2 separate regions of the Homo sapiens genome follow, and region 1 is linked to region 2. The links are contacts of gene promoters, found by promoter capture Hi-C in human tissues and cell types (Jung and others, 2019). All regions are on one chromosome and are shown on one strand. The core of a region is centred on a gene start or on the middle of the fragment in contact, and the rest is flanking DNA. Distances in the headings are between cores, read along the strand shown.

Evidence for each region. The method cuts DNA at HindIII sites, captures the fragments that hold promoters and counts their contacts. A contact is called where the count stands out against the background at its distance.
Region 1: a fragment that was not itself captured here is called in contact with the fragment with the promoter of GHR in region 2 in 2 of the 25 tissues and cell types used here (dorsolateral prefrontal cortex and heart right ventricle).

Annotation. Positions count from the first base shown.
Region 1 is chr5:42,567,223-42,574,025 of GRCh38, forward strand. All of the region lies in intron 2 of GHR (growth hormone receptor), which reads left to right. Among named protein-coding and RNA genes, the nearest start is that of GHR, 150 kb to the left of the region's middle. The HindIII fragment of the contact is 7,778 bases long and covers 1-5,516 here.
Region 2 is chr5:42,417,910-42,424,688 of GRCh38, forward strand. It overlaps GHR (growth hormone receptor), which reads left to right and starts at 5,530. Exons shown (of 10, transcript NM_000163.5): 1 at 5,530-6,046. RefSeq lists promoters at 4,813-5,898, 5,322-5,894, 5,504-5,604, 5,802-6,570, 6,223-6,570 and 1 more, cis regulatory regions at 4,813-5,321, 5,659-5,699 and an enhancer at 5,526-5,675. The HindIII fragment of the contact is 10,174 bases long and covers 3,462-6,779 here.

The DNA of each region.
Region 1 (6,803 bases), core at 378-2,877, 150 kb after region 2:
AAGATTTGAGGAATTTAAAAAACTTGTGAAATGAAAAGTATGGCATAGGAAATCTTTAAAGAAAATTAAAAATGCATCCCCAGCTGAGAGATTAGAGCTCAAATTACATTTTAGAACTAGAAAGTCTGCAAGGAGCATCTGTTTCAGCTGCTTCGACATTTTACTAAAACTTTGAGTTCCTGAGTGAAGAGAAAACATCACTAGTTGCTTTTAATGTTTGCTTTTTGTTTTTCTTTTTAATAGTTTTGTTTGATTCATTTATTTGTTCAGGGAGAGCAGAATATAAGCAAATGCAATAGTTTATACTAAACACAAATCACATATCCTACCAGTACTTACGCATAAGAAGTAATTTAACAAAGAAGAACATTTTTGTCTCTTTTTTTTTTGTCTTATTGAACTAACCAATATTTCTTTTTCCTTTGGAATATGTGCATATTCCAGAATCCTTTCTTAAAATGGTCTAAGGATTAAGGATGGGGCATGATGTTTATGTAAGAAGGCATATGTAAGCACGTTCCAGTGTGTGTGTGCATGCTTGGCTCTGTGTGTGTGTGTGTGTGTGTGTGTGTGTGTGTGTGTGTGTGTGTGTTCTAGTTCTGGCCACTTATCTAATGAATGGGTTCATGGGTTCAGCCAAAGTTACTGCATAACATGACATGGGTCAGTCTCAGATAATATTTATGGACCATGTGTTTGTTTTTCTGCCAGGTCTGGATTGTAGCCAAATCATTTTATTTTTATTGTGTCTCCTATTGAATAAGGCAGACTAAAAATATAGATTAAATTTTTAAAAAGAAAAGATACTACTATTGAATTCAGTTTGTTCAGTGAAAGATGTGGCATTGATGGGTAAGTGATCTTGGAAGCATCACCTGGAGAAAAGTCACCCAGGAGCTGGTAGAAGATGACAGACCTGTATGCGTAGGGAAGGGTAGCACTTGAGCAGGGATTTTCTTGCTTGGGCAGATGAGCAATTAGAAATATACTGGCCCTGAAAGGATTTTTTTTTATTAAATCTAATTGCCCTGTGGGAAATTTAATGAGAACTAAATTTGAACAGTGCCGTTATTGTGTTAGCTAAAGTGTTGTAATAGATGTTTTCTGTCTCTCATCCTTAATATGAAGTTCTCATCCTTAATATGAAGCTCTATATCTGCTCCTCAAAGCCAGTTACATAGTCTAGAGGAGAATTTTTTATTCCAAAATCAGGAATGATCCACAATGCCTTGTTTTCAAAGGGCTTCACATGGTTGACCTATCAACTGATTGTATCAAAATTGCTGCTGCTGGAATAATGTTGCTAATGAGAAATGTGCATAAAGATCTAATGGATATAAGTATTCTTCCAAGGAGTGCCTGTTATAAATTAGGTCGTATATCTCTACTATTTCAATCAGTCTACCCTTGAATATACCCTTTGACCTCAGTAACCTAAGGTGGAAGTAAGCAAGCCCCTGCCTTGTAGTTCAGTCTAGCTGGGACATGAGGAATGTCTTGAAATTAATGAGAGCCTGTATACCTTTAAAGTCTAGATTGTGTGATGAAGAGAAATGGTCAAGATGCCCTGAAAAAGAATAGATCAAGGTGGACTAGAATAGTTAATTCAACAAATTCAGTGTACTGATAATTCTTAAGAGCTTCCTATTTTCAAAGCCTGCACCTATGGCTATGAGGAATACATTGATTCTTCCCTCAAGGAACTTTTCATGGGTTAATAAATCAGGCATGTACACCAAGAATTACAATATCAGGCATTGTATATTAACTATCAAAATGGCTTGAATCACACTTTATAGAAGTGATGATGACGTGAGGGATACCTCAGCTGTGGTGAATTACAGCTTCATGAAGGAGGTTGACATTGTTTCTCTAGAGACTAGAATGTCAGGTTTAAGATTTTAAAAGGCTGAGAAGAACAGAAGGCTATTACAGGAATAACTTATGTGATAAAGCAACAACATAAACAGAAGTGTACAGATGTAGATATGAGATGTCTATGGACAACAATTCATTCACTTACTGTGCTAGTCAATGGATGGTTCTATTTTATGCATTTAACATTCAACAAGCATTTCTTGAGCACTTACTTCGTGGAAGGCATAGGATTAATTTGGCCAGGGTGTGTGGTACATAGGTGCTATATTTGTAATTATTCCCTTTGGAAGCAAACTTAGGTCAGTAGGTTTGAGTCAAATTATAGAAGGCCCAGAGATAGCAAAGGCATTATGGAAAAGGCAAGACTTGCTGGGCCCTTGAAAAATCGGTAGCATTTGGAGAGGAAGAAAAGAAAGAGGAAGTGTATGCCATATCCAGCCAGTAATAGTCCTCAATATTGGAGGCCAGACAAAAGCGCTACCTGCATGATGGAATAGTGTGTGTGTGTGCATATGTGTGATATTCATATGTAACATATATAGTATCTACATGTAATATTGATATATAATATTTACATACAACATATTTATATTTGTATGTGTGTAATACATACACTATATGTACACATATACATATACATGTATATATATGTACACTATATGTATATAGTATATGTATGTGCACACCAGTGAGGTGTGGCTTGCAGGCAAAGCACATAATTGACATCACTCAAATTCTGCAAAAGGTGTTATATCATTCTGTACCATTCAAAGTAAGAGACTTAGGAATGAGATGCCACATCCTAAGGGAACCAAGAGCCCCAAAATAATTTTTTCTGTATATTTTGAACATTTTTCATAAACCTATGCACACTGACAAAACACTTACTTGAAAGGAAAGACACCCCTGTTCTCATTGCTATCAGACAGCAACAATTTATTTTTTAAAATAAACTCTATTCCACCACAGTTGAGGTTCCACAGAGCTCTGAGAGGATGTCAAGACATGTCAGATATATTTCACACAAGTATTAGAGTCATGGTTTCAGTTAGTAAACAGTAATGAATGCATCTGTTAAATGTGTTCAAGAATGAACACTTCAAGGCTTTCCATTCACAGTGAAGGTGGGGAAAAAAGCCACAGAGCTTTTGATTGCTGCTGTCTTCACCATAATCCAGAGGCAAGAAGAAATCTTATGGTGTGTTCTAGTGCAATGGCCTGCGTCCATGTACATCAGCAATCCTCTGTCCCCTTGTCCTCCTGATATTGCAGAATTTATTTGATGTTGGAGTTCAGCAGGTCACAGCAAGCTGGATTAATCTAGATGGTGCCAATGTAGATAATGACACATAAAAAGTCTTTCAAGAAGCTTTTATTAAGTCATTTTACAGATTCAAGGAGGAATTTCATGTATTTATTTATTTATTCATTCAATTTTGCATGCATGCATTTATTCATTTTTTTGTTTTAGAGATAGGAACTTGCTATGTTGTGCAGGCCCCAAACAGTTCTACTAGCTTCAAACAATCCTTCTTCAGCCTGCAGAGTAGTTGGCATTATAGGTATGAGCCACTGTGCCCAGCCCAAGGAAGAATTTTGAATGTATATTCCTGCTTTTAAGGAGCTCACAGTCTTTAGAAGAGAAAACAGAGAAATAAACATAATTTAATTGTGATCCTCTTAGATTATTAAAGGGTTTTAATCTAGGTAATAATACTGTTAGATTTTTACTTTGTCAGTAATACTAGTAATAGGATAAAAGTGAATTTGAAAGGGATGAATTAGAGGAGGAAGTTGATGACAATAGGTCAGGAGAGAGATAATCTAAGTGTGACAGGGATGATAAAAAATAGATGGATCACAAACACGGGGATGTTAAGAAGACAGAATTACCAGTACTCAGAGTCTAATTAACCTGTGGATTTTTGACTCGGGGAACTATCAGTGCCTTCTTTTCCATCCATTTCTAAGTTTCTGCATTTTTAATTAATGTGATCATCAGCAATGACTCACGTTTAATGCAGTGAAGTCCTGGTGCACAGTTCAGCCTATTAGCACTAAAGTGGCACTTGCACAGAACAACTCTGTAGGGGAGGAAACATGCTGAGGCTGGATGACAGCAGAGTGTCTAAGCTACGCTTCTTTTGTACTATTTCTCTGAACTCCTCATGCCTGTGTCTACCCTGGGTCCTGCAGCTGTCTGCTCAGCTCTGCAGTATGGCTGTGGTATGGCTCAGGCTACTATGCAGTGAGGGTCTACAGCAAGGACAAAGGTCTGAACTCCCTCCTCATTGTAGTCTCTGGACATGTGTGACTCTATCCCAAAACCTTGACAATCCCCCAGATATTTTGTCATTGCTAGAGTATGTACTTACTCATGGGATACAATAAAATATATGCAGGATGAGTTGAGAACAGCAGAGCCATGTGCTGGGCAGAGTCTGGGAGGTTGGTTAGGCTCCCACGGAAAATGAGTGACCTACCCCTACAAAGAAGCTGGCAGTGTGAGTGATTAGATTTGTGCCACAGCTAATTAGTAAATTGAAGGAGTGGGACCACCCAAGAATACTCAGAACCCTGAATGTTAGTTAAATTCACACATGCCAGTGATAGAGTATATTTCTGGTCTTCCGCCTTAGATGCCAGCTCTTACGGGAACAGAGCCAGTCCTGGTTATATAATAGAATGTTTCCACACCACTTTGGTTCAGTATCCTAAATTGTGGCTCTTGTTATGGGGTAGACAGGAATGAGGTTGACATAACGTATTTGGTGTTTGGTGATGGCAAAGAGTACCTGTTCATAGACACACCTGGTTGTCCACCTCTGGCTAGAGACCAACCCAAGTTCAACTGTGCAGAAGTCCATGTTGGCCTTTACTGGCCCAGCCAGCCTCTACCTGAGATCATTCCCTACAACAAGGGGCCCAGGATTCCTCAGTCACCCCAGCAGCTTTTCCCAAGGAAAACCATCTCATGAAGAATTTGCCATTGATGATTTTCTCCTCACTGTGCATCGAAGTCAATGGGTTTATTACTGAGAGTTGGTTCCTTTTAAACCTTAACCTTACACTGTATATGATATAGAACTGTAGGCAGGCCAGGGTCATCAATAAAGACATTTTTGGGGCCTCTACTTGGCTTGTAACCACCTGCTTATCCACAGTACTGTGCACCTAGCTTGTCATCAGGCAGAGTCACCAGCAGCCACAACAAAAGGGTGCACCTTCGTCTTTTCCAAGCAGCAGGCAATGTGGCTCCATTTTAACTTTTCTGGCAATACTCACATGGATTGTTAAATAATGCTGTCAACAGTGTCATCTTCAAACCCAAAGCAAACTTCCTCATCATCTGTAGTTAGCAGCATGAAGACGGTGATGATGTGTAACATAAACACACTTTGAAATCTGATGCAATTGACCCTACGAAGAGAGTATTCCTTAGTGCCCTGTCTGGCAACTTCTGGACAGACCAGGAGGCCTTGGGGCTTAGAGCACTTCTTCAGCCTCAGCTGCAAATCCATTTTTTCTTGTCCCTTGTTCCCAGGATGAAGCCACAGTGTTTCATCAGGTACATTTATCAGGAATCTCTGTTTCTGTTTATATAACAATTTAACTTAAGCCTCAACCTTCACAGTGTACGCATCACATTTCCATGGAAGGATTGCAGGTATTAGAAGATGGTGGATCATGTCTTAACCACAGGGGAAATGTTTCAGGATGTTTTTATAGAAACTTTCACTAACAAGCAGGACACAGGATTGGCAGAGAGGTGGGGGTAGGAGGCAGGTGAAGGGTGGCATTTGTTGTGTTTCCCTCTTCTAAATGAAGTTATAATGACATCTGTGTTTCAAGAGTGTGGCAAGTTTGGACTGAGCTTGAAATAAATACAGTTTAATTGGTTTCAAATAACTGAACAAAATGACCATTCCATGCCCTGTGTAATAAAATGTTATAGAATTAAAACTTATTAGACGTTAAAATCCATGAAGGATATTTTGCTGGATGCCCATCCTTCAGCATTCTGATGAGGATCTTCGTGTATTTGTTCAATGAATAAGTGAATCAGCAGCTAAATCCTGACCTTTGATTTCCTCAGTTCTCTCCTGCAATTGTCACTGATGCTCTCATCTCCAGTCCTGAGCAAGGCAGGAGTTGAATTAGTATCCCCTTATAGTGGGAGGGGTCTAGAAATAGCTGTGCCACTTTAGAAGCTAGGCTTTGTGGGCTTTTCCGGGGGATGGAATGATTTCATTTTCCTGCTTTCTACTCCACATACCACCAAGATCAGAATTCTGCCCTAAACACTAATGTGTGGGAGCCTGATGTCCTGCCTAAGTCTTGTCAACCTCTTTCCAGGTGACTGAACTCCGAACCCCATGCACCAGTCACTGGCCAACATTCTGCATTAAGTGACCCGGTCACCCAGCACCATCCCCCTGACACCACCTTTATCTCTACACCACCTGCCTCCTGCCTGATTAAATCTCCTCAAATATTGACAGACATAATGATACCTGAAGATCCCAAATCCAAATTTTCTTTGCCCCTTTGGACATTGAACTTTAGATTACAAAAGACCCTGACTAGGGATCCTGTGGATAGCTGAGTCAATTTTCTTAGCCCCATTCCTTAAATATCAAGTCTTTCTAATTTTCCAATGAGAGCACATGAAACTCTCAAGGTTAAAAGTCAATTTATATTAATAAAATCTTTAATTTCTTGATTTCTGAATATGAAAAAATGATACTTTGTGTATTTTTTAATTTTTTGGCAAAACCTTCCAAATTTGTGGAAAGAGAAATAATATTGACTACTGGATAACCATGTGCTATGTGTAAATATTAACGGATTCACCTTAGTGGGCACTGACTTGATGATGTTTGCCACATTATATTTTCCAGAGCCTTGGCTCTCCCAAAAAATGA
Region 2 (6,779 bases), core at 4,280-6,779:
TCAGAGTTCAAACACCATGCTGGGAGAACCACTGCTCTCTTCAGAGCTGTCAGACAGGGCCATTTAAGTCTGCAGAAGTTTCTGCTGCCTTTTGTTCAGCTATGCCCTGCCCCCAGAGTTGGAGTCTACAGAGGCAAGCAGGCCTCGTTGAGCTGCGGTGGGCTCCACCCAGTTCAAGCTTCCCAGCCACTTTCTTTACCTACTCAAGCCTCAGCAATGGCTGACGTCTCTCCTCCAGCCAGGCTACCACCTCGTAGTTTGATGTTGGACTGCTGCACTAGCAGTGAGCAAGGCTCTGTGGGTGTGGGACCTGCTGAGCCAGGCACAGGAAGGAACTTCCTCGTCTGCTGGTTGTGAAAACTGAGGGAAAAGTGAAGTATTTGGGCAGAAGTGTACCATTCCTCCAGGTACAGACTGTCACTGCTTCCCTTGGCTAAGAAAGGGAAATTCCCCAACCCCTTGCTCTTCCCGGGTGAAGCGACGCCCCACCCTGCTTCAGCTTATTCTCTCTGGGCTGCACCCACTGTCCAACCAGTCCCAATGAGATGAACCAGGTACCTCAGTTGGAAATGCAGAAATCACCCGTCTTCTGCATCAGTCACGCTGGGAGCTGCTGATGAGAGCTGTTCCTATTTGGCCATCTTAGGTTGTTTTCCAATAAATGGCAATTTTAAGCTTTCACCTGGCTCTGGGACCTCCTCATAAATTTTGGCTAAGAATACCCAGATCATGAAATAACATTTTCCCTGTTACCTTCCAATATAGGGGGAAAGCAATAAATACTTCCCTAAGTCATTTTTTTCTCTTCATGATTCCCTTGCCATCCTCACCCAAGGCAGTTGTGGGATGGAACTAGGGGACTAAGATAAAGAGAGTACCCTAGTCAAAGAGCTCTCACAGTGTGCTCACAAGCATCACATGCTCAATTCCATGATATGCTGAGTCCTGGGCAAGGAAGGAATTCTCAGCACTCTTGTACCTGCTACCTGACATTCTTGAGCCTCTTACCCTGCTATGGTTTTCTTTAATCAGCACTTCAGTGATTTACTTATTATGTTTATTGTTCATTGTCTCTCCTAACTAGAATGCAAGCCCCATGAGGGCAGCATCTTTGTAGATATGTGGTATAAATTTTGTTCCCTGATGCATGCTAAGTTTTTAGAACGAAGTCTGTCATAGTGTAGGCTCACCAACATTTGTATGAATGAAAGAACATGGTGAATGGGAATTCAGTGTTAGTTTAAAAAAAATTCATTAAAGGGATAATATTTTATTAGAATCTTATTAATTTTACCAGTAAATATTGTATTAATCAGGGAGATATATATATATATATATGTCATATTCATGAGATATATATATATATATATATGTCATATTCATGAGATATATATACAGAGACTTATTTTGAGAAATTTGCTCACATAATTGTGAAAACTGAAAAGTCAAAAATCTACAGGGTAAATTGGTTACAGATTTAGGGAATAGTTGATATGCAGTTTGAATCCAAAGGCTGCCTGCTGACAGAATTTTCTCTTCTTTGGGATAGGTCAGTTTTTTTCTCTTAATGCCTTCAACTGATCGATTGAGGCCCACCTACATTATGTAGAGCAATATGATTTACTCAAAGTCTATTGATTTAAATGTTAATCTTACCATAAAAATGCCTTTGCCAAAAAAATCTAAAATAATATTTGACCAAATATCTGGGTACCATGGTCTAGCAAAATTGACACATAAAATTAACCATCTCAATGTGTCAACTTTGCTAGGGCATGGTACCCGGACATTTGGTCAAATATTATTCAAATAAATTTAGAATTTATCACAAATGTTTGATATCATAATTTGATTTACAAATATCAATCTAATACTTTATTTTACAGCTGAATGATCTCAGAGAGCAACCCCTTCCTTCTATAGGCCAAGAAATGGAGTCATTGTGAGATTAGTAACTAATTTACCCAAAATCACAGAGGACCCACACAGGATCCCAAGGCTCCTGACTAACAATCCTATGTTCTTCAACTACAAATGCTATAAAACAAAACAGCTATAAAATGCTACTTTAAGTGTTTTGGCCTCTTTTGTTTTGTTTTGAGAAGAAGCTTTGGCATTTTATAGTACAACAGAGTGACTAAAGCCATGCTCTAACCTCAGATAACTGTAGATTTAGGAAGTTTATACTGTGGTGTTTTATGGTTTGGGGAGATGGCGATCTGACCTAGATATCTGCACTTGAATATATATAATCAGAATTATTTTCTAATTGTTTCTATTGTCTTCAAGGCAGTTTATATTTTTTGCTAAGCCCTACTGGGGATGTATAAAAGACTGGGGAAGGGTGGGCCATAATAAGGTAAGGCCATAATAAGGTAAAATAGGTTGGACAAGATAAGTTAGCCAATATCTGAGTAAAGACTTCAAGGAACTGTAGGAGGAAGCAAATGAATATTTGTGGAAGTGTGTTTAAATCAGAGAGAAAAGCCAGCAAAAAGCCTTCAAGTTAGGAGTCTGCCTGGCCTGCTTAAGAAACAGCAGGGAGGCCGGTGTGCTGGGAGCAGAATGGATGACCCAGTGATGGGGAAATTCATGGGAGATGAGGTGTGGGGCAAAGGTACATAGCTCACGTAGGGTCTCATGGGCCATTTTGAATTTTATTCTGATTTGAATGGGGAACCATTGGAGGGTTTTGAGCTGAGGAATGACATGATATTAATTTTAAAAGGAATGACTATGGCAACTGAATTTATACTTTGGGTTGTTGTTGGTGTTGGTTGGGGATTAGGGGTGGGGTTTGTCAAAGCAAGCAGACCAGTTGAGTTGAGAGACTACTGCAGTAATCTGAGAAATTCTGGTGGTTCAGACCAGGTGTCTCTGGACCTCTCCAAGAAAATAGACAGAGTTTTGAATGTGGAATGTGATTGGCAGAGAAGAAGTAAGGATGATTTCAAAGGTTTGTGGCCTGGGTAACTGGCAGGAAGTAGTTGCCATCTACTGAGATGGAAATGTCACCCACTGTGATTGGAGTATGTTTAAGGAGAAAGAACCAGAGTTCAGATGTGGACATGTCAAGTTTCAGAGGTCTGTTAGACATCCAAATGGAGATACCCAGTTGTTAGCCTGGAGCTCTGTGGAGAGATCTGGGTTAGAGATATAAATCCAAGAGATACAACTTTTCATTCAATTTGATTATTTATTGGACGCTTTATAAACTCTGTAAATACTGGGCACTAACCTAGACATTGCAGGTACAGATATTAAGAATATATAGTTTCTCCCTCAGAAATCTCTTAATTAATGAGAAAAGCAGACATGTCAACAAAACTGCAATATTTAATAAAAGAAGATATAAAGGCCTATAAAGGTGCTGATACAGGGAGAATTAATTAATTCCACCCTGGGGAATAGTCAGGAAGACCTTCAGAGAGAAAGTAAACAATTGATTGGAACTTTAAGATTAAGAAGGATTTCTCTGGGTGGACAAAGTAGGATCTTCCAAGCAGAGTGGAAACCATGAGCAAATGCAGTTTCATTCTTCAGAAGGTAAATGTGCTCTGGCATGCCTTAACTTATAACAAATTAATCAACTCAATACCTGCTACATTTTCCCTCACAATTTGGAATATATAAAGAGGCACATACTACTATGGACCAATACCTGGTCATATATGAGATTGAAGGACCTTTACTTACGAGGCTTAAAAATAAAGACTGCCCTTCATGTCAGTTGCAGGTTTATATCTAGTTCTATAGTATTAACTGAGGTGTCTTTTCCTATGTTTTCTGTGCATGATGACTTTTTAAAAATCAAAGACAGAGCAGCAGCCAGAGTAGTCTAGTTTCATGGCACACAGAATGGAGGATATTGCTGAACCCAGATTTAAAAAAAAAAAGAAGTCAATTCTTATTTTTTTAAGTATGGCCCTGAGCTCATCTCAGAGCATAAACAATAGAATTTAGAATATCTTTTATGACTCCGTCTGGCACCTCCTAAACTAGATCAAGATTCTCTAGCTCAGGGAAGAAGGGCAAAGGATGAGAAGGCACAGAGAGGATATAAACAGAGAGGTTGGTAGTGCCAGGCTCTGAAGAAGGTCCAACTTGGAAGGTCATTTCAGACAGGCGTGGAGTCAGCATTTGAGGCCTGTCTGGTCTCTACTCCTGCCAGGACTACCCTGTCAGCCAGCTTGGCAGGTATGGACCACCCAGCAGGAGTTTTTCTTGACTGTGCCCTAATCTTTTACTTTCCCAAGTTTCTCTATATGGGTACCTCCCCTTTTAAAAGCTCCAGACACAGCCAAGCACCACTATTGCTCCAGCAAAGTATGAAGCCCCAGAAATCAATGGTTTGGGGAAGAGTCTTAGGGGAACTAAATGCCTCCTTATTTTTAGATGCCATAGAACAAGAGCAGTTCAGGATCAATAACCATCCCACCCCATGATAAAACACGCCCCTTCCAGAATCTTTCCTTTTTCGTTCATTCTAGGTGTCTGTCTGGAACAGCTGGGGTATTTGAGCCACAGCTGAGCTTCTGAAAGCATTCTAAGGAACAGTTTTTCACTTATCTGATTCCTTTGAAAATAGGGGTATCTTATGTGATATCTGCTATCCCAGAGTCTTTGGTCCTCTGTTCCTTCTCAAGTCTTGGCTCCCGTGTACTACTTCAAAGCCCTATAGATATTTTATTCTAAAGAAAAGAAACTTGGTTCCTTTAAGTTGTTTAAACATTTCTTTCTGGGTATAAACTTGGGTTTGTGTCTGGGAGCTCTGTTAAAAAAAAAAAGTCTTTAGTAAGCCAAAGCTGTTAGAAGCTTATAAGTAAGTGACATTACAATTGACCGTCAGTAAATAGTGGAAAGATTGCATGACTAGCTACTCCTTCAGATCTGAGACAACCTGGAGCTAGATTTTTGTACTCTCTACTCAGAAAAGCATATAGTGACTTGGGGTTTGATGCTGTACAAAAATGACATGCTTATGCACAACTTTAACTTTCTGCAACACTTTTACAACTTCTTGTGAATGAAGTAGGCAGGGCTCGCATTTGACAGATGAGCTATGTCCAGCGTGAGGCAGAGTTAAAACCCTTTTCCTGGCTCAGGAACTTCAGGCTGGGGCCTGTGTCTGCTCTCCCTGCATCCCTGTCCTCTAGCAGATACCTCTCTGCTAACATGCTGAGTGTCCTTGGTAAATTACTCATTCTCTCTGTCTCCGTCTTCTAACCTCCACAATAAAGTCCTTCGTAGTTTTAACTATCTTTTCACTGTGCCCCAGTGAGCAGGAGTTTGGAACTTGATTGTTGATGGAAAGGCAATATTTGGATGGCTAAACACGCTTTCCAAGGTATCTCGCTGATCTTCCTCTCATTCCTGGAGATAGCTAACCTTTTTGTAAGTGTTTCTTTGAGTCTGTGGACTGCACTTAACGCTCTTGTAGGTCCTGCTTTCATTTGGAACGGGCAGGCGGAGAGGAAGGAAGTGTATTGCAACTACCAATATTTTCCTCTAGGAGGAGCCGCGCAGCTCAGTTGAGAGTGACACGCACCAACTCCAGCTCCTCGCCGGGAAGACTTCATCCCAGCAACTCGGAATGCTTGGCCCGGGCGGCACTCGGCCTCTCCGCAGCAGTTCTCGAACTGGCCTCCTTGAACGTCCGCTTCGCCTTCGCTTCTGCAACCTGGATCTGGGGGACTGCGGGCCAGGCGCGGCGTGACCCCTGGTGAACGGTGGCCGCCTTTTCCCACCCCTGCCCTCCCATCCTCCCTTCCCGTTTCACCCCGCCCCCTCTCTCCTCCCCAAGCCTGACAGCCCGCGAGCTGCCAAGCAGGGCGCAGCCATGGGAAGAGGAGGAGGGCTAGGGAGCGGCGGCGGCGGCGGCAGCGGCAGCAGCAGCTGCTACAGTGGCGGTGGCGGCGGCGGCTGCTGCTGAGCCCGGGCGGCGGCGGGGACCCCGGGCTGGGGCCACGCGGGCCGGAGGCCCCGGCACCATTGGCCCCAGCGCAGACGCGAACCCGCGCTCTCTGATCAGAGGCGAAGCTCGGAGGTACTGGAGTGGGGCTCCGGGAGTCTGGCTTTATTTTCCTCCTGTTGTGCCAGGGGGCCTGAGGGTGAACCCTGGGACTCTAGTTGTTTATGAAAACGGGAGGATCTGTCTTATATATTTACACGGATAATTTTTTATTCCGGATGACTTGGCTGTGCTCCCCTCCTCCTTGCGAAGAAGTTGTTTTCTGCTGGTGGGTTGTTGTAACCCAATCTAGTGTGTGTGTGTGTGTGTGTGTGTGTGTGTGTGTGTGTGTGTGTGTGTCTGGAAGTTGGTGAGGGCGGCAGGGAGTTGCGGGCGACAGACGAACCATCACACTCTGGCGTCTGCTCTGGCCCGCGAGTAGTGTACGTGGAGGGGTTTACTCCGGAGACAGTTTTGTTAAAGTCATAAAAGTTTTGCTAGTGTGTTTCTGTTTGCCATCATCTGCCTGGCTGCGGCAGGAACTGCCGAGGCTGCTGCTGTTGCGCGGGGAAGAATCCCCGGCAGCGCGACTGGAGAGACTGGGGAGGTCGAGCTGTGCGCGTGGACACAGCGCGCAGAGCGCGCGGTCTTTTGCGCGTTTGTGCGGGCCGCAGCCGCACGTTGGCACCGATGGAACTGGGGTCAGTAGAGTGACAGCCACCAGTCCGCATGAACTGGGGTAAGTGGAAATTGTGGCGAGCCGACCTCCCCCAGCTTTTGACACACTAGTGGTTGTAAAATCAACCAGGCTTAAAGTTTTGACAGAACT